2 separate regions of the Homo sapiens genome follow, and region 1 is linked to region 2. The links are contacts of gene promoters, found by promoter capture Hi-C in blood cells and fetal thymus (Javierre and others, 2016). All regions are on one chromosome and are shown on one strand. The core of a region is centred on a gene start or on the middle of the fragment in contact, and the rest is flanking DNA. Distances in the headings are between cores, read along the strand shown.

Region 1 (7,617 bases), core at 2,887-5,386, 1.5 Mb before region 2:
AGATGGTTACAGCTCAGCATTTGTCTTATTTGAACATGGTTTGAACAGCTGGCCACAATTGAGTGGCCAAAACTCAGTAATTGACACCCGAGTAGATCACACTCTGTTTACACTTCCATTTAGGCTACAGTTCAGTGTACAGAGAAACCTTTAGGCCAAACTTAAAATATGTAAAGAGGCAGTATTAGGCTAAACCCCATTTAGCAAAAGTAGATCATGCACTCTTTCAATTCAATTCAAGACTCATTTTTGGATTATTTGTTATTGGCGAGGCATTCTCAAGGAATTTTTAGCAGGTCTTTTGACTTTTCAGTGTCCTTGTTTGAGAAATACAAGTTTTGGTCTCTAATTCTAGATACGCTGACGTCCCTCTAGCATTAAAGTTTGGAATCTATACATTCCTGGAGGGCAAGGACGGTGATTTTTCTTTCAGACCCCTCAACACTTACACCGATGGTGGGTACAGAGTGTGGCATACAGAATTGATGCTGGTGCACACAGAATGAATTCCTGTTCCTTTTTCCCTCTCTCCCTGGCCCTCGCTCCACTCCAGCCAGACTGGTTTTTCTTTGTACCCCTAGAATTTTCCAGGTTGTTCTGCCTTGAGGACTTGGTACTTGCCCCTTCCCATCATTCGATTCTCTGCCCGACCCCAGTCTCTCCATCCCATAACCCTGCTTTGTTTTTTCGTTCTTGTAATTACTCTCTGAAATTGTCTTACTAGTCATTTATTTATTTGTTTATTCTCTCCACCTCTCCCCCAGTCCCCAAATATAAGCTTCTATCTTGGATCTTTTTGTATCACTGCTGCTAAAACAGTACTTAGCACAATCTAGGCCCTGAAATAGATAACTGTAAAATAAATGAATAAACTCTACCATCCCTTATACAGTAGGTTTTACAGTCATCCCTCAGTATCCTCAGGAGATTGGTTCCAGGATCACCTGCGTATACCTGAATCTGCACATATTCAGGTCCTTAAACAGGCTCCACAGAACCTGCATATAGGAAGAGTGGGCCTTTGCCCTCTGAATACTCGCATTTCCCATCCCACGGATGCTGTATTTTCCATCTGCATTTGGTTGAAAAAAATCCGTGTCTAAGGGCATCCACGCTGTTCAAACCCATATTGTTCAAGATCAACTGTAGCTGGTGAGGTGAACTCTGCAGCTATCACACACCAGGTTCTAGTGAACGCTCTTAGGGGAGGGTAACCCATACAAGTGAATTAACCGCAGAGGTCTTAGTACACATGGAGTGGGAAGAAAAAAGTTATCCCCTGGAAGACAACTACAGACAATTGTATCAGCTATTTAGAAATCATATCAGCATATCTTATTTGCTGTGGAAACTTTAGGTAACATTTTAAAACGAATTCATTTCTTTTTATTATGGAAAATGTCAAACATAAACATGAGTAGATGTGGTAGGTAAGAAAAGCATAATGGACTCTCATGTACACTGTGGTGGATGCACTCCGGGGTGTCCCTCACCCTAGGGTTCATGCCCTGTGTACTCCTCTCCCTTTGAGTGTGTGCAAAACATGCTTTCTGGCCAACAGAATGTTCACATTTGAAGTTGCCCCCGTGGGATTGCTTTATGTTATATAAAATTCTGTCTTGCTGGAGACTCACTCTGGGGACTCTCCTTGCAGGCCTGACAAAATAAGTGGCTGTGCTCGGAAAGCCCAAGTGACAATGAAGTCCAGGTAACCTCTAGGAATTGCAGGTTCCCTCTTGGAGCTGAGGACAGTCTCCAGTCTCCAGCCAGCAAGAAGCCAGGGCCCTCGGTCCTACTGCTGCAAGGAAAGGAATTTTGCCTGTGCCCGGAGTCAGAGTGGAAGCCAGTTCTTCTCCAGTGAATGTGAACGCAGCCTGGCCAGCCCCTTGATGGCAGGCGTGAGACCCTAAGTGGGGGACTGAGTGTACCTGGACACCTGATCCATAAAAACTGTGAGAAAAATCTGTCTTGTTTTAAGGCCACTACGTTTGTGGCAATTTGCAGCAATAAATAATTAAGTACAAGTACATGTCACCCAAGGTCAACTATTTTCAACAGTTTCCAATTGTTTCATTTATACCTCCATGTCTGGAGCTGGGTGGGTGGGAGGAGGGGAGTGGATGGGCTGGTGTGTTTTAAAGCACATTTCAGACTTTATATTATTTCGCTGGCAGATACTTTAGTACATATCTCTAACAGACAAGGAAGGACTTTTTAAAAGCATAACCATAATGCCAGAAAAATTCGGTTTCATTGAGAATAAGAGTGGGAGTCTTTTTTAATGCCATCAAATCAATGGATCTATTATATTAATTGGACACCCACAGAAAAGGTGCTTGCAATAAACAGAATAAGAATAATACCCCGTTGATCTCATTAGCTAAAGGACAGGAAAGCATATGAGAGCTTTCACTTGAAATGTATGAAGCTTTCCAGTTGGTTTTTTAAAACTAGTCCAGCCACAAATACTTAATTGTCCCTGTAATATGCTTGTCTCTCATACAATATCTAAAATAATTAAAACCCAATTATTATCGTGTGCTTAAGATCCATTCTCCCTAGACTCTAACCGGCTTTGGAATGGACCCCTGTAAATTTCACTTGTATTCAAAACTCCTTGTAATTGCATGTCATACTCTAATTGCTATTCCCATCACTTTTTCCTTACCACAGCTCCTCCCAACTGGCCCTCTTGGATAAGCCAATCTCATCCCCCTTCGACACTCCTCACTGAGGCACGCTTTGTAAGGGACATACTTAGGGCTCTGGGTTCGATGCCATCTCTACTACTTGGGAGCTTTGTGATGTTTGGCCAGTAGTTAAGCTTTCTCTAAGCTGGATACAATAATGCCTCACCGGGTTCCGGCGAAGATTAGACAAAGAACATGTGTAACGTGCAAACTGCCCAGTACAGAGAAGGCACCGTTCCCCACAACCCCCTTTGTTGGTTCCCATCTCCCACCACCTAGCCCCAGAACGCCCAGCACCACGCCTCTCCTGCCCTTGTCGCGGGGGATGCAGGGACTTGTAGTTTCTAAGGCCCCGAGTCGTGCTTCTCCTCGGCGCAGGCCTGCGGGCGGAAGAACTACACATCCCAGTGGGCTGTGAAAGGAAAGTGGGGCTCGGGAAATTGAGCATCCCTGCCCAGCTGCCTTCGTTTTCTGCGGCCCCGGGGCTATGCCCACCTCTGCGGGGGCTCGGACCCGCGGCAACGCCTGGGAGGGCGCGAGCGAGCAGAAGCCCCAGGCTCCGGCCGTCCCAGGGCCGCGCCCGCAGCTCCTCCTGGGCTGTCGGGTGGGAAGGGGGGAGGCGCAGGCGGGAGAGGAGAAGCACGCGACCCCTCCGCTGCCGAGGGGGCTCCACGGGGGAATGGAGGGAGAAATAAAGCGAGCAGCTGTAAACGTCCGTGGGGAGAAGTGGAGACCGAAAGAGCTGGGCGGCAGCAACCCAAAACCTGGCCTCCAAGGGCTTATACTCCGGGAGGGAGGCCGGGGCCGGAGGGGACCCTGACCGCTTCCTCTGCCCTTCTTTCTCGGCCCGGAAGCCGGCCGAGCCGGGCCCCGAGACCCTCGCCCGCAGCCCGGTCCCGAAGTCAGGCCGGCCTAGGGCCGCCCCACCCCATCCTGGCACCCGGCACCCCCAGCCCATTTCTCGGGCATCACCAGAGTCCCCGGGCGACGCGACCACGCGCCCAGCTGGGGAGGAGGAAGAAGGGAGGCGCAGGCCGGGGAGGGTCACCTCCGCGCCGCGGCTCCTCAGGTCCCGGGGAGTCGCCAGGAGTGGCTTGCCGGTGGCCGTGGGAATGAGCGTGTCCCGAGGCGGCAGCTGCTGCGCGGGATAAACCCGGAAGAAGCCGCGAGACGGACTGAAGTCGGCCAGGAGCGCACTGCGCGGCGGGGCCGCGGGCGCCCGACCCCATCCCTACTTGGGCGATGCCACAGGGAGCCCCGCGCCTTCCACACCCCAGGGCGCCCGCCCGAGGGGGCTGGGGCTGGAATCTCGCTGCGCCGGTGCCCTGGCTTCGCGGGCGAGGAGGAGGAGGAGCAGGAGGAGGAGCCGCGGGTGAGGCGCGAGGCCACCGCCCACCCGGCCCGGAGGAGGCGGACCCACTCGGAGCGCCGCGCGCGCGCCGGGCTGAGCCTTGCAAACAAGTGTCTGTGCTGTGTCCCCGCGGCCCTCCTCGCGCCGGGGCCGCTTCCTCCGGGTAGGAGGGAGCAAGGGAGCCCTCGCCGCGCGGCCCGCGAGCCGCCGCCGCCCTCGGCCCGCGCATCCCCGCGCGGGGGCCGCGGATTCGACTAGGCTGCCAGGCGCAGCGACACCGGGTCGCGGTGCGAGCGGCGCCCCGGCTCTCGCCGAGAGGCTCCTGACAGAAAAACGTGCGTGGTTGTCCCCACCCCTGGGAGGGGTTGCCGGTGCCGCGCGCGGCCGCCCAGTCGCCAGCGCTCTCTCCTGGGAGGATCCGCTGCCGGAGGAAGGAGTGGACCCAACCTGGCCGCGCCGCAGAAGTGGCTCCCGAGGAAGCCGGCGCCGGGGCCGCCGCCTCGTGTCCCCTCGGGGCGCAGTGCTCGGGGGTCGGCGGGCCAGAGCCGAGGCGCGGCCGGGGAGCCGGGGGCTGCGGGGCCGAGCGGGCAGCCGCGCGAGGGGGCGGGCGCTCGGCGACCCGGGGGCCGGCCGGGCTGAGCCCCGCGCCCCGGGACGCGGGCTGGAAGCGACGGAGGAGTGCTGCCGCGGGCTGCGGACCAGCGCCGTCCCCTCACGGAGCGGGGATTCTGCTATGACAGTTGGGCTCCCCGGAGGGTTAACCTGGGTGTCCTCGGCAAAGTTGTCGCCGAGCCGGGAGCCCGTGTAGGGGCCGCGGCGCCGCGGCTCGGGGGGCGGCCGGGCGGCCGGCGGCGGTCGTGGCTCGGCGGGGCCCGCGCGGCCGGGGGGCTCCTGGGGGTGTGCGCCCCCAGCCGGCTGCCCTCGTGGATGCCTCCCGGCGGCGGCGGGCCCATGAAAGACTGCGAGTACAGCCAGATCAGCACCCACAGCTCCTCCCCCATGGAGTCGCCCCACAAGAAGAAGAAAATCGCGGCCCGGAGGAAATGGGAGGTGTTCCCGGGAAGAAACAAGTTCTTCTGTAACGGGAGGATCATGATGGCCCGGCAGACGGGCGTCTTCTACCTGACGCTCGTCCTCATCCTGGTCACTAGCGGACTCTTCTTCGCCTTCGAGTAAGTGGTGGCGACCGCTCCCCCGACGCCGCACTCCCCTGGTCTCCCCTGTCCCCCGCCCCTCCTCGGGCTGCTTTCGTTTTCTAGAAGTCTTATCTACTGTAAATTGTTATATAATGCCAGTCTGCGCTCCCTCTTTTTTCTTTTAAAGGTCTGATTGCTTTTGGGCCCCCGGAAAGAACGCCGTTCTGGGCTGGGCTTCTGGGAGCAGGGAGGGAAGGGGTCCACTTGCAAGGGGGGCCAGGCCTTGCCAATCCAGGTGGCGGATGGGACCCAGCAGGTGGGGCCGCCGGTCCCTGATCCTTGGGGCGCTCTCTACCGAGTTTGGGGACCCAGCAAATCAGCCCAGATGTAGCCTGCCGTGGGAAGGTGGGGTGCGATAGATTCCTAAGTCAGGGATACATGGAACTGACTTTTTCCCCCTTGCTGACAACATATAGGGCATCTTCTTAAGCTCAGTTGACTGAATCTCCCATGTAACTTCGACGAATAATTGAGGAATCTTGGCTATTTCAGGTTTCAAAGTGTCGGCTGCCTAGTGTGCCCTGGATAGATCATTGCATTCTCCAGCCTCCTACATGCTCACTCTGGATTAACAATTTCTTATTTGCCATGAGGTTTCTAAACTCTTCACTTTCAAAAAGGTTGCAATAAAAGGTGTCCAAAACAAACAATTTGGGAACATGTGAAAGGAGACCTTAGGTCTGTTAAGGAAGAGGATGACACTACGTGACAACTTCCGATTCCAGAAACAGTCTGGACTTCAGGGATTATATCTGGGGGGATAAAAAGCGCATGCAAGTCTTCACCGTTTTCAGGAAAATCAAATTGGCCAGTAGCAACTGTCCTCCTGCCAACTAATGAAAGGTCTTCTTATTTATTAGCAGTGATTAGATAAAGCAGTTAAACCACATTCCAATCAATTTTGGTTGCTTTTTTTGCATCCAACATTTGGAATGCAACTCCTTATGTAATTTCTGGTATCCTATGTTCAATGAAAGGTGGAGTTACTTTTTTCCCCTCAGAATTTAAAGAAAGCAATATATTTATAGGGAGCTCTTCTTTGGGCTTCCCAAATCCTGGTTATTATTGGGCTTGATACTCCTTCAGTCTCCGCCTCCTCCTGTTGGGTAGGCTCAATTAAAACCTTTTGAATTTATTTACTTTTGTTTCTGATTAGGATTAATAGGCTCTAATTTTGTGCCTGGCTTTTGCTCTTCCAAATGCTGTCTCAATTGGAAATGAATGATCTCTTGACAACGTAATACTTGTCGCTCAAAGCCCTCTGACTCTCAGGAGAAACGTTTTGTATCTGGACACTGTGCGCTGATTAGCAGTTTTAAGAGGACTGAGTTAGACCAGGCGATGAGAAGGATCTCTGATTTAAGCGAATTCCCCTTCCCCAGTCCTTCTCACACACAACTCCTCTTCCCCATTTCCGATGGTATGTGCAGTTCCCGGGTCCCCCTTGATGTTTAGGTTCTGTGTCTGTTTGACACTAGTAGGTAGAGTCAGTGGGGAGACCTGTGGACGGGAGGGGAAGGGTGTGAACAGGCATTCAGAGTGGCAGGGAGACACACTCTACTCATGCTGCTGTTGCTCCCATGGGCCCCCATTGAGAGCAGCCTCTTGTCCTTACAGACCTTGGAAACTGGAAGAAGGGGCATAGAGGTTCCCCATGAGTTTACGTTATCTGTTAGGATGAACACTGGCACTGGAAGCGTGATGCCATGTGGTTTAACAGAAATGCCATCTCTCTAATGGTGAATTTAGTTACAGGTGGTCCTCTAGTTGCAGAGTATTAACTGTGTTCCTACAGTTTTTTAAAAAAAATCTTGAACAGATCCAAATTGGCACTTTTGCTCTTTTTAGCGATTTTAACTGTGGAGAAAATGGGTTAATTTTGTGATTCTGTTGCAGAGCTTCAGCCACAAGTGTGCTCCATGGAGGATGATGAATATTTCATTTTCTGTATATACCCAAGTCCCCACTGTATGCTTAGGGATCCCCCCAGTTATTACTTAACATCTTTTATTTTCTTCATTCAAACATAGCTTCTAACCAAACCATCATAAATTCATTTTCGTTTCTTGATCTCTGCGTGTGTTTTTTCAAGAGTTCCCAAAAGTCCTCACTAGCAGGTTGTTAAGGATCTTTCTCTGTGTCAGTGTTATGTTAACTGATGACTGTAGGAATAAATGTGTGCGCCGGGATTTTATTAGCTGCTATTTGCAGCATCTTTTTTATATCAGCTCTGTGGGAGCGTATGTGTGTATATGTGTGTGTGTTTGCTCTCCATGGTTGTTGCTTCAACTAGGCAATTTGACATTTCAAGAAAACAAGAGGCCCATCCTAGTATGATGCCTCTGTTTGGAAAAATCAGAGGCTATTCGAGCTACAGAAT
Region 2 (7,682 bases), core at 1,288-3,787:
CCTGGCTCCAAGGCAGTTTCCACTGCAGGGTCTACTGTATTTGGAATTTCTATCAGGTAGTTCTGGTAGCTTTTTGGAAGAAAGTGTAGAAGAAAGTTTGAAAGTCATTCTTATGATCGGTTTGCTTCCTGGTTCCTAACCAACCAAGTGGATCTAAGTGAGGCCACTTTGTAAACAGGTCGTTCTCCAAATTGATGAACACAGCAGAATCTGAGACATTTTCAGAAACTTTGTACTGCAGATTTAATATGGTCTGTTGCTCAGGGGAAGCGGAGATTGTTGAGACTGTAGGCACCCTTATTTTCCCTCTCACATAGCAATCTTTTTTTTTTTCTTAAGACAAGGTCTCGCTCTGTCACCCAGGATGGAGTGCTGCGGTGTGATCACAGCTCACTGCAGCCTGAACCTCCTGGGCTAAAGTGATCTTTCCACCTCAGCCTCCCAAATAGTGGGGATTACAGGTGTGAGCAACCACGCCCCACAGTAGCAATCCTTTTCTTAAACCAGCAGCAGGACAAATGTCTTCCTGAAGATTTGTAACACCTGGTAGTGATCCCAACTCCTTCTGGGCCCGCTTAAGACTAAGTTTCTGGTTAGGAAAGAAGAAACTGCAGAGCTTAGTAGTTAAGGGCACACAGGAGTCAGACAACCTTGGGTGTGAATCCCGGCACTGCCATGGTACTAATGTGTTGCATGAGTCATGTTGAGAGGTGAGGCCAGCTGGACTTCCTGGGTCCAGTGGGGACTTGGGGAACTTTCCTGTCTTACAAGAGGATTGTAAAACGCACCAATCAGCAGGATTCTAAAAGTAGCCAGTCACGGGAAGGATTGAAAAAGAGGGCACTCTGATAGGATAGAAATGGAACATGGGTGGGGACAATAAGGGAATAAAAGCTGGCCACCCCAGCCAGCAGCGGCATCCCACTTGGGTCCTCCTCCATGCTGTGGAAGCTTTTTCGCTCTTCACAATAAACCTTGCTACTGCTCACTCTTTGGGTCCCGGCCATCTTTAAGAGCTGTAACACTCACCGCGAAGGTCTGTGGCTTCATTCTTGAAGTCACTGAGACCACGAACCCACTGGCAGGAACCAAGTCCAGACACAATGTTATGCAAGCTTTCTAGACCCTTTCTGTAAAATGGGTATAATAATAGTATCTAAGTCATGGGGATTTTGTGAGGATTAAATGAAATGCCTGTTAAGCATTTAAAATGCCTGGCACATTGAAAGTTCTTTTTGGAGACAAGTCTTGCTCTGCCGCCCAGGCTGGAGTGCAGTGACATGATCTCTGCTCACTGCAGCCTCTGCCTCCTGGGTTCAAGCAATTCGGTGCCTCAGCCCTGAGTAGCTGGGATTACAGGCATGCGCCAACACGCCCACCCAATTTTTGTATTTTTAGTAGAGATGGGGTTTCACCATGTTGGCCAGGGTGGTCTGGAACTCCTGACCTCAGGTTATCCTCCTGCCTCGACCTCCCAAAGTGCTAGGATTACAGGTGTGAACCACTGCCTTTGGGCCAAAAGTACTTAATTCTTATTGATGTCCACATTCAACAATTACTAGGTTTGTTTTTTCTGCATCCAGCTGCAAATGATCTTCAAAGTTGTGAACTCAGGAAATCTCAGAGGCGTTTATAGGCTTTCCAACCAGAGATGATATTTGTAATTCAAAGAAGTAAATAGAAATCCTTAAGAGAACCCCTTTCAAGCTAAGTTCCCATCTAATATGGAGTGGTGGCTTCGAATGATCCTTTTGGCTTATCTTTTTAAGTGTAAGAATTTTTGATGAATCACACTTCGTACCTATTTGGTCACTTTCACCAAAGTACAAAACCAGTCTGCCACCAGAAGAAATTTAATAACCTTGAGACTCAGAGAAGCAATGCTGCCTGATTGGTGGACAGCCAGACCAGTGAGGGTCAGACGTGGCTCTTCGGCTCCGGACACGGGAATGTGGTGGAAATGAGATCCTCCAGCGATTCTAAGGAGTGTTTTGTTCTTCTGGCTTAAGAGAAGGGCAGAGGACAGAACCAAGGGGAAAGAGAGACAGGCCCAGCCATTGTCTGACGTGAGGCACGATAACACATTAGAGGGCTGGTTTAGCAAAGGGCAAGGTAGAGTTGGCATTAGACGCGCTTGCAAAGGGAGGCGGGCAAGAGCTTCAAGACGCGAATGACACTTGAGCAGCCTGGGCTCACGTCTGGTAAGGTTTACGCCGCCTGTTCCCGCCATCTGGCAACTCCCTCCCAGAAGGGTGAGTTTGGTTCTTGGCAAATCCCCTTCGGACACACAAGCTCTTTTATTAAAATATAACCCCACTAACAGATTGCAGACTAGGCACAGAAGCCCCAAAGCACCCCCAGAGACCGCAGCAGTCCCGCCCCGCCGCCCCCGGATCCGCGCGGCTGCCAGAAGCTCCCCTCCCCCAGATCTTGGCCCCTCCCTGAGGCGCGCGAGCGTGTCGTCGCCCGCTCCCGGCCAATCAGGGCGCGCGACCAAAATAGCGCCATATAAAAGCTGGATGGCGGGCGCGGCCGGTGCAGAGCCTCGCGCTGGGGTGGGGTTGCGCGCGCAGGTGAGGGGGGCGGGGCCGGCGCGACCGGCGGGGCGGGGCGGACACTCCCACCGCGCACCTGCTTCTGCCTGACGTGTACCCGGAAGGTCGTCAGCTCAGGCTCCAAATATGTAACAGTGAGTTTCTAAGTGAGTCACACGGACGCGGTTGGTTTCCAGTGAGGCATAACTCATCGCTTCACTCTTCTCAACGGTTCCCTCTTCGGAAGGAAGCGCAGTCCGCAGCGTCGTCCGAGGGCGTGATCGCCTGCGTCGCACCCGCGTCTCCAGTGGCCACCCCTTGTCCTACAGGAACGCGCATCTGCTTAGCAGGCGCTGAGCCCTTGAGGAGGCCTAAAATGAATGAACGCGGCTGTGCCTCCTGAGCAGGCTCACAGTTGTGGGTGGGGGACAGAAGGGTGTCCATGCCTAAGGTCGACGGCGATAAGACAGACGTTCTTCCCAGGAGGAGATCAGTTCCAGGTGGGAGGCATTTCTAGGAGTCACCTTTCTCCGAGGAAGTGACCTGAGCTGTAGGAGGTGGAATCACAAAGGCTTTGGTGCCCTACACACCTGGGTTTTAGCCTCAGCTTGAGTCACTCACCCAGTCTGTGACGCTGAACACATCAGGAAACCTCAAACTTTCCCCATCTTTAAGATGCAGATAATAGCCGGTCACCATGGCGTGTGCTTGTAATGGCAGCTACTCGGGAGGCTGAGGCAGGAGGATCTCTTGAACCTGGGAGGTGGAGGTTGCAGTAAGCCGAGATCGTGCCACTCACTCCAGCCTGGGCAACAGAGCGAGACTCCATCTCAATAAATAAATAAATAACACTACATGACTGATAGCATATTTTTGAGGAGCATCTCTCCCCCTCCGTGCTTGGGTTTAATCCCCCCTTCCTCTCTCCCTCCCTCCCTTCCTCCCTTCTTTCTTCCTTCGTTACGTTTCTCTTCATTTCTTTTTTTCTCCATCATTCCTTCATTTTTCTTATTTTTTCCTAACTGATATAATTTACACACAATAAATCGCACAGAAATTAAGAGGACAGCTGGGTGAAGTTTTACATATGTATACACATGTCATTAGCCCCTAGGTCAAGATCTAGAACATTTCCATCACCCCAGGTTTCCAACTGCTCCTTCCGGTCAGTAGTACTTCCCCAGAGGTAACCACTATTCATTTGGACTTAAATTACCAAGTATGAGTTGTGTCTACTCTTAAACTTCATGTAATTGCAATCAAGCATTATGCTTTATTCCAAACTTGTCCAACCCGCACAGGCCACGGTTTTGAATGTGGCCCAACACAAATTTGTAAACTTTCTTAAAACATTGCGAGATTTTTTGTGACTTTATTTATTTATTTATTTTTTTGAGACAGAGTCTCTGTTGCCCAGGCTGGAGTGCAGTGGTGTGATCTCGGCTTACTGTAACCACCGCTTCCCAGGTTCAAGCGATTCTCATGCCTCAACCTCCCGAGTAGCTGAGATTACAGGCTGGTGCCACCACACCTGGCTAATTTTTGTATTTTTAGTAGAGATGGGGTTTCACCATATTGGGCAGGCCGGTCTCAAACTCCCGACCTCAGGTGATCTGACCACCTCGGCCTCCCAAAGTGCTGGGATTACAGGCATCAGCCACCGCGCCCCGCCATGTGATTTTTTTTTTTTTTTTTTAGCCCATCAGCTATTGTTAATTTTAGTGTATTTTATGTGTGGCCCAAGGCAATTCTTCCAGTGTGGCCCAGGGAAGCCAAAAGATTGGACACCTTTGCATTTCTGTTTTTTTTCACCCACCGTAGTGTCTGTAAGATTCCTCCATGTTATCACACGTATCAGTAGTTTGAAGTTTGTTTATTACTGAATAGTATTCTATTGCATGAATATACTTAAGTTAACTTATCCTTTTTACCATTGATGTGTATGTGGGTTGTTTTCAGTTTTTGGCTATTATGCATAAAGCTGCTCTGAACATTCATGTAGTATGATGAATAATTGATTTTAGTAGGATATATACCTATAAAAGGAATTTTTGTGTCATAGGATGATAGGTGTATATTTAGTTTTAGTAGACACTGCTGGCAGTTTCCCAAAAGGATTGAATCAATTTTTGAAAATTGGCTGGCCGCAGCAGCTCACGCCTGTAATCCCAGCACTTTGGGAGGCCGAGGCAGGTGGATCACGAGGTCAGGAGTTCGAGACCAGCCTGGCCAATATGGTGATTCTCCATCTCTACTAAAAAAAAAAAAAAAAAAAAAAAATTAGCTGGGCATGGTGGCGTACGCCTGTAGTCCCAGCTACTTGGGAGGCGTAGGCAGAAGACTCTCCTGAGCTCAGGAGGCAGAGGTTGCAGTGAGCTGGGATCATGCCAATGCACTCCAGCCTGGGTGACAGAGCGAGACTACATCTCAAAAAAAAAAAAAAAAAAAAAAAAAAGGACTGGTCGAGGTGGCTCACGCCTGTGATCCCAGCACTTTGGGAGTCCAAGGCAGACAGATCACCTGAGGTTGGAAGTTCGAGACCAGTCTGACCAACATGGAGAAACCGCGTCTCTACTAAAAATACAAAATTAGCTGGCCATGGTGGCGCATGCCTGTAATCCCAGCTAGCTACTCGGGAGGCTGGGGCAGGAGAATCGCTTGAACCTGGGAAGTGGAGGTTGCGGTAAGCCGAGATCATGCCATTGCACTCCATCCAGCCTGGGCAACAAGAGTGAAACTCCATCTCAAAAAAAAAAAAAAAGAAAAGAAGAAAAGAAAATTATAGTTACTTCACATCCTTGCCAACAATTGGTGTTAACAGTCTTAAATTTTTGATGGTTATGCAGCAGTATTTCCTAGTGGTTTTTTTTTTTTTTTTTTTTGAGACAGAATTCTGTCACCCAGGCTGGAGTGCAATGGCACGATATTGGCTCACTGCAACCTCTGCCTCCCGGGTTCAAGCAATTCTCCTGTCTCAGCCTCCTGAGAAGCTGGGATTACCGGCATGCGCCACCATACCCGGCTAATTTTTGTATTTTTAGTAGAGACGGGGTTTCACCGTGTTGGCAAAGCTGGTTTTGAACTCCTAACCTCAGGTGATCTGCTCACCTCGGCCTCCCAAAGTGCTGGGATTACAGACGTGAGCCACCGCACACGGCCAAAATCAGGTTGTTTTCTTACCATTGAATTTTGAGAGTTCTTTAAATATTCTGGATACAAGTTCTTTATTAAAAAGACTCCCTTCCATTGACTTTGCACCTGCCACTTTGTGAAACGTCAGTTGGCCATATTTGTGTGAATTTATTTCTGGACCATTTGTTCTGTTTCATTGATCTGTGTCTATCCCTTCACCAACACGACACTGTCTTGATTGCTGTAGCTTTAAAGTAAGTCTTAGCGCCCTCCAACTTTGTTCTTTTTCCTGATTACTTGGGTATTTTACTTCATTTGACTTTCCATATGTATTTTAGGCTTGTCTATATGTTTTAACAATCCTGCTGGGAATTTTGTTCTTTTTTTGTTTGTTTTGTTTTGTTTTTCAGACAGAGTCTCAGTCTGTAGCCCCGATGGAGTGCAGTGGTGCCATCATAGCTCACTGTAACCTCAAACTCCTGGGCTCAGGGGATCTTTCTGCCTCAGCCTCCTGAGTAGCTAGGATCACAGGTGTGCATCACCACACCTGGCTAATTAAAAAAAAATTTTTTTTTTTTTTGGTAGAGACGGAGGTCTCGCTATGTTGCCCATACTGGTCTCAAAATTCCTGGCCTCGAGTGATCCTCCTGTCTCAGTCCCTGAAATGCTGGGATTACAGGTGAGCCACTGTGCCCCACCACGTGGGGGATTTTGGTTGTATTTGTGTTAAATCTATAGATCAATTGGAGGAGAATTGACAACTGTATTGAGTCTTCCAGTCTGTGAATATAGTATGTCTTTACATTTATTTAGATTGTTTTATTTCTTTCATCAGCATTTTGTGGTGTTCATATATAGATCCTTTACGTGGTTTGTTAGATTTATGCAGACTATTTTTCAAAGCCACTGTGATTTAAAAAATTTGGTTTCCGGATATTCATTACTATTATAAAGAAATATAGTTGGTTTTCATGTGTTAACCTTGTATCCTGCAATCTCACTAAACTGACATTGGTTTTAGAAGGTTTTTATGGAATCCATGAGATTTTTTACACAGGCAATCATGTTTGTGAATAGGTACTAGGGACAGTTGCGTTTTCTCCTTTCCAATCTGTATGACTTTCATTAAATTTTATTTCCCTGTTTGACAAGATAGGTCTTCCCGTGCAATGTTGAGTAGGAGGGGTGAGGTGGAGTTCCTTGCCTTGTTCCTGATCTTAGAGGGAAAGAAGCATTACGTCTTTCACAGTGTGTTTAGTTATAGGCTTTTTTGTAGGTGTGCTTTATCGGTTTAGAGAGCTCTGTTCGATTCCTCATTTGCCGACTGCTTGTACCGTGAATTGATGTTGAATATTGTCGGTTGATGTGGTCTTGTTGCAGATTACATTTTCATTGATTTTCAAATATTGCATCTCGGGAATAAACCCCGGATCATGGTGTGTAATTTTTTTTTATGTATTACTGTTTCAATTTGTTAGTATTTTGCATCTGTGTTGATGAGGGATATTGATTCATGAGGATCTTTTTTTTTTTTTTTGTATTTTCTTTATCTGGTTTTAGTATCATGATGATGCTCATCTCATAAAATGAGTTAGGAAGCATTCCTTCCACTTCTGTTTTCTGGAAGAAACTATGTAGAGCTCATGTTATATCTTTCTAAAATCTTTGGTACTATTTGCTGATGAAACCATTTGGGGCTGCAGATTTCTGTTAAGGAAGATTTTCAACTAGAAATTCAATTTTTTTAATAGATAAAGGATTTATTTAGGTTTTTAATTTATTCTTGGATGAGTTTTGGTAGCTCGTGGCCATCAAAGAATTGATCCACTTTATGTAAGTTGTCAAATTTATGTGTGCACAGTTGTTTGTGTAATTTATTACCCTTTTAGAGTCTGTGGGGTGCTCAGTGATAGCCTATCCTTCATTCCTAATTATTGGTTTTGATTTTTTAAAATTAATTTCCTATTTTCAATTCCAATGATTTCTGTTCTAATTTTTATTATTATTTTCCTCTTA

What was found. The method cuts DNA at HindIII sites, captures the fragments that hold promoters and counts their contacts. A CHiCAGO score of 5 or more calls a contact.
Region 1: the fragment with the promoter of ZDHHC14 here is called in contact with the fragment with the promoter of LINC02901 in region 2 in 1 of 17 cell types (activated CD4 T cells); the score reaches 8.4 in activated CD4 T cells.

Annotation. Positions count from the first base shown.
Region 1 is chr6:157,377,054-157,384,670 of GRCh38, forward strand. It overlaps ZDHHC14 (zDHHC palmitoyltransferase 14), which reads left to right and starts at 4,137. Exons shown (of 9, transcript NM_024630.3): 1 at 4,137-5,213. The coding sequence starts at 4,969. LOC124901446 reads right to left here and starts at 4,038. Exons shown (of 1, transcript XM_047419644.1): 1 at 2,261-4,038. The coding sequence starts at 3,648. The coding sequence ends at 2,758. RefSeq lists enhancers at 2,461-3,073, 3,685-4,296, 5,055-5,194 and silencers at 3,275-3,354, 3,515-4,404, 4,915-4,964. The HindIII fragment of the contact is 8,143 bases long and covers 2,823-7,617 here.
Region 2 is chr6:158,867,277-158,874,958 of GRCh38, forward strand. It overlaps LINC02901 (long intergenic non-protein coding RNA 2901), which reads left to right and starts at 2,538. Exons shown (of 3, transcript NR_160980.1): 1 at 2,538-2,701. RefSeq lists enhancers at 1,512-2,184, 2,185-2,857, 2,758-2,927, 2,858-3,531 and a silencer at 2,358-2,677. The HindIII fragment of the contact is 6,622 bases long and covers 1,114-7,682 here.